2 separate regions of the Homo sapiens genome follow, and region 1 is linked to region 2. Evidence: promoter capture Hi-C in human tissues and cell types (Jung and others, 2019). All regions are on one chromosome and are shown on one strand. The core of a region is centred on a gene start or on the middle of the fragment in contact, and the rest is flanking DNA. Distances in the headings are between cores, read along the strand shown. Region 1 overlaps VPS26A (VPS26 retromer complex component A). Region 2 holds the start of HKDC1 (hexokinase domain containing 1).

Region 1 (7,587 bases), core at 4,109-6,608, 78 kb before region 2:
ATAACTTATATAAACTCATGATTTAAACATACTTGATGTTTATAAATATTGCCCTATTGAAGCTCTAGTTGTATAATCCTCTGTAACAAATTACCACAAACTTAGCAACCTAAAATAACAAATTTATGTCTTAGGATTTTTGTGATTTAGAAGTCCAGGTGGAGGTTAGCTGGGTCCTATGCTCAGGGACTTACCAGGTTAAAATCAATCCAAGGTTGCAGTCTCGTCTGAAGTTCAGGATTTTCTTCCAGGCTCACTGGTTTTTGGCAGAAATTTCCTTGTTGTGCTATGACTGATACCCTTGTTTCTTGTGCAGTAGGCTGTCTGTTCCTATAGGTTGCCCTCAGATCCTTGCTGAGTGGCCCCTTTCTCTCAGTTTGCGTTGTCTTCAAGGCCAGGAGGAGACCATCACTCTGACATTCATCTTCTTTTAAAGAGCTTACCTGGTTTGATCAATTCCAGTTAGGATAACCTCCCTTTTGATTAACTAAAAAAATCAACTGATTAGTAACCTGATCACAGGAGTGGTATCCTATCATATTCACTGGACTCACCCACACTCAAGAGGATTATACACATGTGTACACCATGGGATAGTAATATTGAGGGCTATCTTAGAATTCTGCCTACCACATTTGTATTGACTCTTATGAAAGGACATGGGGGCCCTAGGATTTTTCTTTTTTTAAGCTGTATTGAGATATATATATATATATATATTCGCCATAAAAATTCACCCATTTTAAGTGTGCTTAAAATTTTTAGTAAATTTAGAGTTGTACAACTATCACCACTAATTCCAGAACATTTTCATTACTCCAGAAATTTTTAAAAATGCTGTACCATTAGCAGTCATTCTCCATTTCCCCTCCTTCCAGTCTCTGACAACCCCTGATCTCTGTTTCTATGAATTTGCCTATTCTGGACATTTCATATAAATGGAATTATACAATGTGTGGTCTTTTCCTATTTTGTTTCTTTCACTTAGTATAATGTATTTGAGATTCATCAATATTGTAGCATTTGTTATTAGTATATCATTGTTTTTTATTGATGAATAGTATTCCATTTTATGGCTATACCACATTCTTGTTTATGCATTCACCAGTTGGTGGGTATTTGGGATGTTTCTACTTTTTTGCTGTTGTGACTAATGCTGATGTGAACATTTGTGTAGCAGTTTTGTGTGGACCTATATTTTCCTTTCTCTTGAGCATGTACCTGGGAGTGGAATTGCTGCCTTATGTTAAATATGTTTAAGTTTTTAATAAACTGCCAAAGACCTTAGGAGTTTTTGGTGGCTTTCTTGCTAACTGGTATGACAAGATGTTTAAGGGTCTTTTGTGTTTCTGCTTCATACCTGCACTCAGCCGTATCTTTCAAGGCCATAGTTGCATGCAAAGATTGCTCATTGCTACAGTGTTGGACATTATTTCTAGGCTGCTCAGTGGATAGATGGGGAGAGTTTTTAAATATAGATTTAATAAATTTATTTTTATTTGTGTATATTGTTTAAGATAAAATACTTCAGGAATCATATTGTCATTTCCAATTCAATTTGAAAATTAGAAGTTTTTACTTAACCTCTTATGTTACATGTATATCTCCTTTCTTCTGCATCAAGAATACTGATTTTCAGAGTCAAAGGAAGATGTAATTAGCATATCCCATAATTTACTCAATATCTTTACCCCACATTATATACATAATAGTCTCAGAATAACAATACTAACATTACCACTATCAATATGATTATGAAGTTAGTTAAAAAAAATTTAGCATTTGCTATTTGTTTTACTCACATTTCTTAAATGTACCATAGTAAGTACATTGTCAGAGTGTATAGTAATTATATACTTTATGTGCTTCCTTTCGCCCTCACTTAGTCTTGGTTTTATAAATAACTGTTCATATAGTGTGCACCACCAGTCCTTATATCTTTGTCTCTTTATTTGTTTCATTGTCTGAAGCTTATTCTCTAGTTACTAGAGTCTAATAGATTCCTCAGGAAATGCTCATGGGAACAATAAGGCCTAAGTTTTTGCATATTGGTAATGGCTTTTTTGTGTCCTTTACACTTAAAAGTTAGTTTTTCTGAATAATCTTGGCTTACATTTTTTTGAGTTATTTTATTTATTTTCTATTTATTTATTATTTTTGAGATGGAGTCTTGCTCTGTCACCCAGGCTGGAGTGCGGTGGCATAATCTCGGCTCACTGCAACCTCTGCCTCCTAGGTTCAAGCGATTCTCCTGCCTCAGCCTCCCAAGTAGCTGGGACTACAGGTGCCCACCACCATGTCTGGCTAGTTTTTAAATTTTTAGTAGAGATGGGGTTTCACCATATTGGCCAGGCTGGTCTCAAACTCCTGACCTTGTGATCCGCCTGCCTTGGCCTCCCAAAGTGCTGGGATTACAGATATGATCCATCGTGCCCGGCCTTCTTGAGTGTTTTAAATCTATTATTACTGCATTGTCTTCTGGCATAGGGTATTGTTAACAGTTTTTTCATTTGAGGAAAGTTTTCTTGAATTACAGCCATTATTAATTAGTATTTATTCCATTCCTTTGCTTTGGTTTTCTTCTTGATATCAGTATTTTTGAGTCTTGTTTGAGTGTGGTTTTTTGCTCTTGTATTCCTTCTGCTTATCCTTTATTTCTAAAATGATTTTTACTTCTATTTCTAATTCTTTTCTGATTTTTCTCACCCTAGCTTAAGATTTTCTTTCATGTATTGTATCATTTTCTTAATATCGTATAGCCTGTTTTGAAATAAATTACAGTTTTGATCTATCTTGTCTGTAGAAATGCCATTCTGTTCCTTCTCTTTTTTTCTTAAAATAACTTTGTATGGGATTTGACCTTGATATATTTATGTTGCTAATTTTTATGTGAAATTAGTTTTCCCCAATGTTTTTTTTTTTTGAGATAAGATCTTGCTCTGTTGCCCAGGCTGGAATGCAGTGGCATGACTATGGCTCACTGCAGCCTTGACCTCCAAGGCCCAAGCGATCCTCCTACCTCAGCCTTCCGAGTAGCTGGGACCACAGGCATGTGCCACTGTGCCTAGCTAATTAAAAAATATATATTTTTTGTAGAGACAGGGTCTTGCTATGTTGCTCAGGCTGGTCTCAAACTCCTGAGCTCAAGTGATCCTCCCATCCTGGCCTCCCAAAGTGCTGAGATGTGAGCCACTGCACCCGACCTTCTCCTGAACTTTTTGTCTTTTCGTGATAGAGTCTCACTCTGTCACCCATGTTGGAGTGCAGTGGCACGATTTCAGCTCACTGCAACCTCCGTCTCCCAGGCTAAAGCGATCTTCCCATCTCTGCCTCCTGAGCAGCTAGGACCACAGGGCACACTACCACGCCCAATTATTATTATTATTATTTTTGGTATTTTGGGGTAGATACGGGGTTTCACCGTGTTGCCCAGGCTGGTTTCGAGCTCCTGAGCTCAGGCGATCCACCTGTCTCAGCCTCCCAAAGTGCTGGGATTACAGGTGTGAACCACTGTGCCTGGCCCTTCCTGAACTTTTGATGGTTTGGTTTAGGATAGTTTTTCTAACCACCTATCCTAGACAGCAGGCCTGACTGGTCAGTTTTGAGTGTTCTAATATTATTGGATTGTGCAAAACTCCTTCCAGCGTTAGCTCTTATTCTCAGATTGACACCATGCTTTCCAGTGAATATATATGAGTAATTTGGGAGTTCTTAGGTCCATCAGACACTCCATTGCATTCTTTGATTCCTCCTGCACAACCCTAGTATCATGCAGGTTTTGTGGCTATTAACCTGGTTTGTCCCTACGCATTATGTTTTGGGATTGTGGGAATACTTTATCTTTTTCTGTGGTAAATTGGATCCTTAGATTTTTTTGGTTTTGCTGTCTAGTTGGTCCATCTGTTTTTATGTGACGATCTGGGGAGATTCAAAGACTATGTTGCCATCTTCCCAGAAATTGATCTGAGATTCTAAAAGGCCATGTGTAACCATTCTGGCAGTTTAGCAATATGTATCAAAATCTTCAAAAGTGGATATCATTTATAGTAGCCAGAATAGTCTGGATTATTACTATGTAAGAGACAACCCCAAAACTCAGTGACTTAAAAACAACAGTGGCAGTGGCTTCTTTCTTGCCCAGGCAACATGTTCCTTGTGAGTTAGCTGAGGGCCTTATTCTGTGCCATGCTCAGTGATGGAGCAGCCAGGAACATCACACTCATCATGGCTGAGGGAGAGAAATCTCTGCAGAGTCTTTCACAAGCCATTAAAATGCCCCATCCTAGAAGTAACAAAGAGCATTTCTGATCAAATTTATTGTCTCTAGAAACAGTCTTGTTCGTACCTCACCCAGCCACAAGAGGGTAGGGAATACAATCATACCATGCACTCAGAATGTATGCAGCTGGAAATATTTGAGCAGTGCCTGTATTGATTAATATTATTTTGATCCACAGATTCTTCTGATCAGATTTTATCCTAAAATAATCAACTTTGTTCATTTCACTGTTTATAATATTCAAAAATTGAAAGCCACTTAAATGTCCAGACATTAAAAAACCTAATTATGGTAATAACCATTAAGTGCTTAGGGCCATTATTAATGTGATTATATTGATCTGTATTCATTCACATGAAAAGAGGTTTGCTATAATAACAATATTTACTGAGTACTCACCATGACCCAGGTATTCCTTCTGAAGTTCTTCATAATGATACAATGATTCCTCTTTTTTTTTTGAGATGCAGTCTTGCTCTGTTGCCAGCCTGGAGTGCCGTGGCGCGATCTTGGCTCACTGCAACCTCTGCCTCCCGGGTTCAAGTGATTCTCCTGCCTCAGCCTCCCGAGTAGCTGGGATTACAGGCGCATGCCACCACGCCCGGCTAATTTTTTGTATTTTTAGTAGAGACGGGGTTTCACCATGTTGGCCAGGATGGTCTCAATCTCTTGACCTCATGATCTGCCTGCCTCAGCCTCCCAAAGTGCTGGGATTATAGGCGTGAGCCACCATACCAGGCCTTTTTTTTTTTTTTTTTTTTTGAGGTGGGGTCTCACTGTGTTGCCCAGGCTGAGTGTAGTGTCATGATTACGGCTCACTGCAGCCTCATCCCCCTGGGGGCCCAAGTAATCCTCCTACCTCAGCCTCCCAAGTAGCTGGGACCGCAGACATATGAACCACCCTGCCTGGCTAATTAAAAAAATTTTTTTTTTTTATAGATAGGGTCTTGTTGTGTTGCCCAGTCTGGTCTCAAACTCCTGGACTCAAGTGATTCCCCAACCTTGACCTCCCAAAGTGCTGGGATTATAGGCATGAGCCACTGTGCCTGGCCAAGGATTATTTGAAAGATTATCTTGTGTTCAGTAAAATTAGGATAACTAAAGAAAATGAAAAAAGTGGTATAGATTTGTAATAACCTCAGAAAGACTATCTTGACAACGAGCTTGAGGCTTTTAAAGCTAAGAAAGACATTTTAAACCTCATATTTAGAATAAGATGAATAAGAAAATAATATGCTCATTTGGCACACTTATTTTAATATAACAAATGCAAAAGAAAGCTTTCCCCCCACTATTCAAAAAAAAAAAAAAGATTTAAATTGGGAAAGGTAGGATCATTAAAAATTAAAACAGAATGAAAGCTTTGTTATGGTTAAGAAGATTAAAAATAAACTAACTAGTTTTCAAACATCCTGGTGACCATACCAGACAAATGCTATGCGATAATACTGAAAGAATTTTGCAGAACTGGTCACCAAATCTCTGCTAGGAGTCCTTTAGTAATTGTGGAAAATGAGAGAGGTTCTAGAATATAAGAAAAGCCCTTATTTATAAAATGGGGTAGAAAGTTTGTTTCAGGTAAACTTAATATTGGTTCCTGACATATCTTTAGATTATTAAATAGGTGATCAGTGAACATGCTGAAAAGAAAGCTTAAAGGAAAAAGAGGAGGAAACAACGGGTTGTTTACGACCAAGCATGTGTCACTAAGAACAAATCTTGCCACACCAATCTAGGGTTTGTGAAATGTCCTGGTGTAATAAAAAGATCACTGGGCTAGCACTGGAAGATCTAGCCTTAACTTTACCGCTGTCTTGGTAGGTAACTCTGGACAGTCATTTAATTTCCTGGATCTCACCTATAAGTTTAGGAGGTTAGACTGCCTCATTGGTTTCCAAACTTGGCTTTGCACTGTAGGATGCTCTGCATGAAAATCTTTCATATATTAGATATTATGTTGGATCTTGGAGGTCTGACATCTCGCCCACAGCAAGAATAAATTCCTTTTTAATATTCCTGACGTGAGTTTCTGTATGCCTACTTTTCAGAGTGTGGGGATTCTGCTGTTCTGTTAACAGTATCCACTCTGCTTTTTAGAGATACGCAAAATAAATCTAATCCTTTTCTAAGTAAGAGTTCTCTCTAAGCATTTTCCACATCACTGTCTTGTTTATCCTGTCTTCTCTAAGCTAAATATGCTATTTCCTTTAGTTATTGTTCAAGAACCCTGGGTTTTGAGTCTTTATCACCCAGATTGCTTTCTTTTAGTTTTCAAATTAAATTTAATTTTTTTGAGACAGGGTCTTGCTGTGTCACCCAGGCTGGAGTGTAGTGATGTGGTCATGGCTCATTGTAGCCTTGACCTCTCAAGCTCAGGCGATCCTCTCACCTCAGCCTCCCAAGTAGCTCAGACAACAGGCACACACCACCATGCTCAGCTAATATTTTACTATTTTTGTAGAGTTGGGGTCTCCCCATGTTTCCCAGGCTAATCTCAAACTTCTGGGCTCAAGTGATCCTCCTGCCTCTGCCTTCCAAAGTGCTGGAATGACAGGTGTGAGGCACTGTGTCCAGCCTCAGATTCTTACATAACTATATAGAAAACTGGTTTGCATTATCTGTATCCAGCAGTTCTACTCCTAGATACATACTCAAGAGCTCTTTTAAGAGCAATTCTAGATTTTCAGAAAAATTGAGCAGAAAGTAGAGTTCTGTGTACTCCCTTCTTCCTCACCCCAGCCCCACATGGATTCACTGTTACTAATCTTGCATTAGAGTGATACATTTGTTAAAATTGTTGAACCATTATTACCACATTATTATTAACTAAAGTCCATAGTTTACATTAGGGTTTACTCTGTTGTACATTTTCTGGGTTTTGATAAATGCATAATGTCATGTATCCATCATTGTGATATCATATAGAATAGTTTAACCACCCTAAAAATTCCCTGTGTTTCATTCACCTAGTCATGCCGCTCTGGCACCTGCGCTACCACCACCATCCACACAGTCTTCGGCAACTACTCATCTTTTTACTGTCTATAATTTTGTCTTTTCTAGAATGTCATGTAGTTGGAATCATATAGAATGTAGCCTTTTTAGATTGGTTTATTTCATTTAGCAATATTCTTTTAAGGTTTCTCCATATATCTTTGTGACTTGATTGCTCATTTATTTTTAGTGCCAAATCATATTCCATTGTATGGATGTACCAATGTTTGTTTATCCGTTTACCTACTATCTTGGTTGGTTCCAAGTTTTGCTCATTTTTCTATCTAGTTGACTCTTTTTCTCTTATTGATGTG
Region 2 (7,778 bases), core at 3,969-6,468:
CCTTTTCCATACCTGTGGGTTTGGGTTTTTTTGGGGTTTTTTTTTTTTCCGCTGAGATGGAGTCTGGGTCTGTCGCCCAAGCTTGAGTGCAGTGGTGCAATCTCAGCTCATTGCAAAATCTGTTCCCCAGGTTCAAGCTATTCTTGTGCTTCAGTCTCCTGGGTAGCTGGGATTAGAGGTGTCTACCACCATGCCTGGCTAATTTTTTTTTGTATTTTTAGTAGGGATGGGGGTACCACCTGGGCCAGGCTGGTCTCGAACTCCTGACCTCAAATGATCCACCTGCCTTGGCCTCCCAAAATGCTGGGATTACAGGGGTGAGCCACCGTGCCTGGCCAAGCTTTTTTATATAGCTTTTTAACCAATCTCTTGTTTTTGGCTCTATGTCTTGCCCCAGACCTCTGATTCCTGAGCATTTTAGAGTTTTACAAACGTCACAGCTCCTTTCTCACCCGAGTCACCCTCTGCGGGCACTCAGGTTTCAGTGTTTGCTCTACTAAGCAATTACTTCCGTGAGCTTCCTGTCTTCCAGAATTATGTTAAGATCTCTTATCAGTCACTGTTTCCTTTCTTTTTGTCCTTGTAGGTTAATGCCGTGTTTAACCAGAAGTCTCATTTGCTTTGAAAAGTTGGTTATTTTGTGCAATTGAGATTGTAATTATTCTGAAAAATGTTAAAAGTCACATGAACTGCATTTTCTTGTATGGCTTTTCTTTCCTTGATAGGTGTTTTGCAAATATGACCCTTAATGTACAGTTGTGATTTAGAAATCATGTCAGAATTTCTTCCTGAGCATTCCTTGTCTTCGGTTCAGAATAAACCTGTAAAAATGATTAGCAGCATTCTTTTGAAACTTGCTGAGGTTAGCATTTCTGCTTCATTTGTGGCTGCTCCGATAGAGACACCATTGTGACTGTAACCACTGGCAGCGTTTGGAAGTCTCTACATTGGTTTTCTTATTATGGAAGTTTGCTCTCCCACACAGTTTCTGATTCTTTTGCAGCAAGTGGAATACCAGCAGGTCACACTGATTTATGTTATGACGACTTAACTTTGGACTTACCATTAAAAAGAATACAGGGCAGAATTCAAGAGCTGTTTTCTTTAGTAACAGGAATAGAATTTCCATAAAATTCCCAACTGTTCCTTTAATTCCAGTACATGGAACAGGTACTTTCTAATGGTTTAGGATCATGCCTTACTGAGTGGACTGAAAGGTCTGCACACATTTTCTTATCCCAAGAGACCAAGTTGGGTGAGCGAAGAGGGGTCCCCAGCCAGGGAAAGGCTGAGCTTCAGGAGATGCTTCTAGTGTGCCCACTGTAGACCACATGCCTTTCCTTGTGTGATAATTTGCTTTCTTTCTCACTGTGACCACTGACATAGCTATGAAGCTTTTACAGATATGAATATAGACTTGGACCTTTACCTGCAGTTTAAGAAAAGCCAAAGTAGGACCCCAGGGCCTGTGCACTTTCCACTGTGTTAGAAAGAGCTTAGGGCCATTTTTCCAGCTGAGGCCCCAAGTCTCCCCGTGCCTTGTTTCCAGCCTAGCCAGTGTAGCACAGCGGGCAAGCAAGAACTCTGCAGCTAGACTGCCTGCGTTCAAATCTCGATTTCACTGCGTCCCAGTTGGGCTCTGTGCCTTGGTTTCTCCATCTGTAAAATAGGGAGAATGACAGTTACTGTGGAATTAATATCGTAAGACATCTAGTAAACCCCATGGGGAAGTGTTTGCTAAATAAATAGGTAAATTTTGCTGGACTTCTAGTCCTCCCACCATACTCAGTACTTAAAGAGAAACAGAAATTATCTTTGAGCCTTGCCAAAACGGACCGTGTAGATTAAAGTGGAGCTCTATGAAACGGAGATGTGTCTACAGATGGGAGAGTTTCCCTTCTTACATGGAAGATTTGGGCCAGATGGGTGATACGCTTTAACTAAAATGTCACTTGTCAGTGTCGGCCCTCAAATGGGTGTTCTTAAGCAAAATCCAACTACTTATAAGATTTAAACCTAGATATCCTTGAATAGCCAATAGAACTGTAGTAAGGGTGAAAAATCCCAAGACTTGAATTGGAGTAATCAGATGAGGAATGATAAAATAACCTAATTATTTTGTCTTGATTCTATAAAGTGAGAGGGCTGAGCTAGATGACTCCAAATGCATGTGATCTCTGTAATCATTAAACTTCCTGGTTTAGTCACCTTACTCAGGCCTGGAATGTAGACGCTAATGTGCTCAGATTAAAAAGGGAATGATGCAATAGATGAAAATCCTCTGGTGTCATTTGCCTGATTAAAATTCCAAAGGCTGCCTATCTGACTCACACAAGCAACCGTGAGATTACAGAGATCTTTGGTTATGGTTTGCATCTTTTGACCACTGGCTACTGTAACCTCTTATCCCTATGTCGAACAAATCAATGACAGTTGGTTCATACTGCACTGCCCAGGTTACATTTTTTTTTTTTTTTGAAATGGAGTCTCACTCTGTTGCCCAGGCTGGAGTGCAGTGGTGCAATATTGGCTCACTGCAACCTCCACCTCCTGGGTTTAAACAGTTCTCCTACCTCTGTCTCCTGAGTAGCTGGGATTGCAGGCACCCGCCACCATGCCCAGGTAATTTTTGCATTTTTAGTAGAGACAGGGTTTCACCATGTTGGCAAGGCTGGTCTCGAACTCCTGACCTCAGGCAATCTGCCCACCTCCCACCTCAGCCTCCCAAAGTGCTGGGATTACAGGTGTGAGCCACTGCGCCCAGCCCAGGTTACTTTTTAAATGGGGGAATTAAATGCTGGGTGTGGTGATGCAAGCCTGTAGTCCTAGCTACTCAGGAGGCTGAAGCCAGAGGATCACTTGAGCCCAGGAGTTCGAATCCAGCCTGGGCAAGACTGGATGGAGTTCAAATCCAGCCTGGGCAAGACAAGATGTAGTGAGACTCTGTTTCTGAAATAAATCAACTAGTGGGGGAATTAGGATAAATAATGTCATCACTTACGGGCAGATGGCCTTCCCAGGATGTTATCCTCAGCCAATGGGGGCTAGGGCCTAGGATGCGCATTTCAGAATACCAACAATTCCACCTGGTTTGGGGCACTGAATGGTTTGGGGAACTAAAGGTTCATCTTTGTTTGCTTGTGTAATAAAGGAGCAAGCTAAAAGTCATAGTCTGAGGGTAAATTGACTGAAAAGGATGGGGATCCTCAATCTGGGAGACAGTTTTAATATGCTTATATCAATCTGAATAAAGCATCTGGAGTAATTTTAACCGAGCCTCCTCTGCATTGTGGGCTTAAGTGAGACCTGATGGCTCGTCCACACGGCAATGGGTAGAGAGCACTGAATTCCAGCTACTCAGGAGGCTGAGGCAGGAGAATTGCTTTAACCCAGGAGGTGGAGGTTGCAGTGAGTTGAGATTGAGCCACTGTACTCCAGCCTGGGCAACAGAGTGAGACTCTGTCTCAAAAAAAAGAAAAAGAAAAACAAATTCTTAACATCCCAACAGAATGCTGCTACTAATAGTTATCAATTGCGTATCTATTGAGTATCTATTGCGTGGAGAAAGCAGGGCTGGAGAGCCAATGCCATGTATTATAGCTGGGCCCTGGAATCAAACTTCCAGGATTGACCCCTTGCTGTCCTGTTTATGGCTTTGTGATCACGTAACCTTTCTGGGCCTCAATTTTTTCATCTATAAAATAAGAGTGGGCCGGGAGCAGTGGCTCATGCCTGTAATTCCAACACTTTGGGAGGCTGAGGTGGGTAAATCGCTTGAGCCCAGGAATTCAAGACCAGCCAGGGCAACATGGCAAAACCCTATCTCTACAAAAATACAAAAATTAGCTGGGCATGGTGCCACGTGCCTGTAGCCCCAGCTACCCTGGGGATTGAGATGGGAGGATCACCTGAGCCCAGAAGGCTGATGTTGCAGCGAGTCATGATTCCACGACTGCATTCCAGCCTGGGGGATGAATGAGACCCTGTCTAAAAAATAATAATAACAAGAGTAATAAAAACAAAATGGGATTGGTAAATGCTCCATCCATGTTAGCCGCTGTTGTTAACGCTGTTGTTATTGGTTTCATTAGCCAGCCAGTGACTGTGGGAAGAGTGCAAGGTTGATTGTACCCATGTATTGGGTGCTTTCTGGGTCCTTCTCATGTCAAGTATGATGAGTGAGAAGTGAGTGAATAAAACATCTCAGTGGCCTGAGACATTTCTCTTTTTTTTCTTTTTTTGAGATGGAGTTTTGCTCTTGTCACCCAGGCTGGAGTGCAATGGCGCGATCTCGGCTCACTGCAACCTCTGCCTCCCAGGTTCAAGTGATTCTCCTGCCTCAGCCTCCCAAGTAGCTGGGATTACAGGCACCTGCCACCACTCCTGGCTAAGTTTTTTGTATTTTTAGTAGAGATGGGGTTTCACCATGTTGGCCAGGCTGGTCTCGAACTCCTGACCTCATGATCTGCCTGCCTCGGCCTCCCCAAGTGCTGCGATTGTTACAGGCGTGAGTCACTGCACCCGGCTGGACTGAGACATTTCTTATCTGTGACTTCCTTCTCTCCAGCAGTGATTCCCAGTGAGCACTGGTGACTTCAGTTCACTCTTTCTCAGGAATATTTTTTCCTGGGTCACTACCTGTGAACTAAAGATTTTCTGGCTTAACACTGTGAATAGGTAAACATTTATTGATCATTTTCTGTTAACCATGGGCTATTAGTTAAGAGATCTGATCTGTCACAAATGGAAGAATCTGCCCCAACATTCTTGAAATCCCATTGACCAGGACAATGTTTAGTTTTAGTTAGTTCAGTGCTTCTGAGGAGCAGGGGGTCACAGAGTTATGCCACTGGCATAAAAAACTAAAGAGAAAAGCCTGGGACTGGAAATTTGCAGAGCAGCTCCACCGGTTGAAAGTTGGCTTTGTTTAGTGCCCAACTTCGCAGAAGATTTTCCTCGGCTGAGTGGGCTTGGCAGAGCCCCGGCTTGAGAGGGTTGCTTAGCAATGAGATTTGGTGGCACCCAATTCTCAAGTAGTCAAGCAACCCATCAATACCCTGCTTCCCCCTCCACTAAACCTCAGCTACCATCCAGAGCCTCCTATTAGACAATCAAGTGTGTGCCAGAGGGAGGGACCAAAGGGGTGGGGTGGGGGGGAGTTTAATCATTGAACCAAGCAGGCTGGAGGTATTTAGTCCGCAACACCTCGCTCCCCAGGAGGTCTGCCAGCCTGGACTGGAAGCGTGCAACACTCCAGAGTCGTAGGAGTGAACACTGCACAGGAATCTCTGCCCATCTCAGGAGAAACCAAACTTGGGGAAAATGTTTGCGGTCCACTTGATGGCATTTTACTTCAGCAAGCTGAAGGAGGACCAGATCAAGAAGGTAAGGAGGACCCACGAAGCTGAGAGATGCCCAGCTCCTTCTTCACGGACAAAACTGATTCCCTTAAAAAAAAAATCAGAAGGGAGTGAAGAGAGCTTATTAGAAAAGATACTGGGAGCATATGACCAGTAAAAGACTCACTGAGGGAAGAGGGAGTAATTCTCCCACACTCCTGGGCATTGCATTACTGTCCTGAACCTTACACTTCACTCGGAACTTCCTGGCAGGTATTGGATGCGGAAGCGGGTGAGGAGGGTGTTTGGAAAGCTTGAAGAGGATTGTGTTTGCTGTAAGGGATGTTTGCTCGGAAAGGCCACAAAGGCGAGGAGAATCATTTTCAAAGAAGTTTTAAGAACTGTTGGAGCAGAAGGCTGGGCGCAGTGGCTCACGCCTGTAATCCTAGCACTTTAGGAGGCCGAGGTGGGCGGATTACCTGAGGTCAGGAGTTCGAGACCAGCCTGGCCAACATGGTGAAACCCCGTCTCAACTAAAAATACAAAAATTAGCTGGGTGTGGTGGCGGGCACCTGTAATCCCATCTACTCGGGAGGCTGAGGCAGGAGAATCGCTTGAACCCAGGTGGTGGAGGTTGCAGTGAGCCGAGATCGCGCCATTGCACTCCAGCCTAGGGGACAAGAGTGAGACTTCATCTAAAAAAAAAGAACTGTTGGGGCAGATCTGTTTGTTCATGTATTTGAAAGCATATAAATGTGGGCAGCAAGAAGGTGTGAGTTGCAATAGACAGTAATTGAAATATCTATTATTGGCACCTGCTATTTGCCAATGGTACACTATTCATGGTGTGCATTATTTTGTCACTTTGCTCAGGGAACTTGTCTACAAAATTCATTCCAAAGTGGGCTGGTTAAAGGTTGCCAAGGGTCAACAGGAGGGAACCAGGGTTCTTTCCAGGCAGCTAAAATGAGCCCAGTCTGCTACTCTGGCCACACCGGCTGGCTGTCACGGCCCTGGGCAAAAAGCATCTCTCAAAGTGCAGATGACAGAAGTCCTCCTAGCAGGAGGACTTAGCCAAGGTCACCAAGTATTTAGGATGGAATGAGGATTAAATCCAAGTTGGCTGACTCTTCCTTCAATGCTTTCTGCTGTGCCATGACTCCCTCCTGCTTTACAAAATGAATAAGGAGGCCAGGCACCGTGGCTCACGGCTGTAATCTGCATACACTGGGAGGCTGAGATGAGCAGATCTCATCTCAAACTTGAGGTCAGGAGTTTGAGACCAGCCTGGGCAACATGGAGCAACCCCATCTCTACAAAACATGTAAAAATTAGCCGGTCATGGTGGTGTGTGCCTACAGTCCCAACTACTCGGGAGGCTGCGGTGGCAGGATGGCTTGAGCCCGGGAGACTGCGCTACTGCACTCCAGCCTGGGTGACAGAGTGAGACCCTGTCTGAAAAAAAAAGGAAAGAAAAGAAAAAAAAAGGCCAAGGATGGTGGCTCATACCTATAATCCCAGCACTTTGGGAGGCCAAGGTGGGTGGATCACCTGAGGTCAGGAGGTTGAGACCACCCTGGCCAACATGGTGAAACCCCGTCTCTACTAAAAATTTAAAAATTAGCTGGGCGTGGTGGAGTGCGCCTGTAATCCCAACTACTCAGAAGGCTGAGGCAGGAGAATCCCTTGAACCCGGGCAGCAGAGGTTACAGTGAGCCGAGATCATGCCATTGTACTCCAGCCTGGGCAACAGAATGAGACTCCGTCTCAAAACAAAACAAAGAAAGAGAGAGAGGAAGTGTGGCCCCTTACAGCCCTCAGGTACTTGGTGGGATAAACTCCCACTAAATTCTATTCATTTAGAGAGTTGAGTTAGAGGTTGTAGCAAATTTAAAAACATTATAAAGCAATCACTTGTTGATTAGATTCAGAGCCCTCTACTGGCTACTTAAGGAGGCGCTGCCTAGGAATCCACTTTCTTTTGTTATCTGCTTAGTAAAGGCACAAGTTGCACCATGTCTCTCCCACCCCCAAGGGGGAGCCTTTGGAACCCTGAAACCTTTGATTCTGCAAACTTATTTCATTTCCTTGGGCTCCTTTGTGTTGGTTAACCTTTTGTACCCTAGGATCATGCGGGACATGTTTGTCCAACAGCCCTGGTGCAGGCTCAGGAGCACCCTGTGATGGGAAATGCAGCCTCTGCTGATGGGCTCCAGGTCCTTCTGGAAGGACAGTCAGCCTTTTTCAATGCCGGGAGCTGACCTCCCTCTCCCTGTGGGAGGCGAGAAAGTTGGAAGCACTTTTATAGCCACCTTAAGCAAGTGCCCCAGGAAGTCTCTGGGGTAGTGTGGGAGACTGGTTTATGGCTGCTGGGCTGAGTCATGGTTCTGAGAACACTCCTCCCAACACGTGGTGGAAACACACCTGGTCAAAAGGCAC

The links. Contacts are between HindIII fragments. The study calls those that stand out against the background at their distance.
Region 1: a fragment that was not itself captured here is called in contact with the fragment with the promoter of HKDC1 in region 2 in 2 of the 25 tissues and cell types used here (IMR-90 fibroblasts and aorta).

What each region holds. Positions count from the first base shown.
Region 1 is chr10:69,137,163-69,144,749 of GRCh38, forward strand. All of the region lies in intron 2 of VPS26A (VPS26 retromer complex component A), which reads left to right. Among named protein-coding and RNA genes, the nearest start is that of VPS26A, 17 kb to the left of the region's middle. The HindIII fragment of the contact is 3,189 bases long and covers 3,765-6,953 here.
Region 2 is chr10:69,215,114-69,222,891 of GRCh38, forward strand. It overlaps HKDC1 (hexokinase domain containing 1), which reads left to right and starts at 5,219. Exons shown (of 18, transcript NM_025130.4): 1 at 5,219-5,385. The coding sequence starts at 5,323. It overlaps LOC101928994 (a long non-coding RNA gene), which reads right to left. Exons shown (of 5, transcript NR_120648.1): 4 at 7,764-7,778; 5 at 220-1,659. RefSeq lists an enhancer at 3,076-3,245. The HindIII fragment of the contact is 7,476 bases long and covers 868-7,778 here.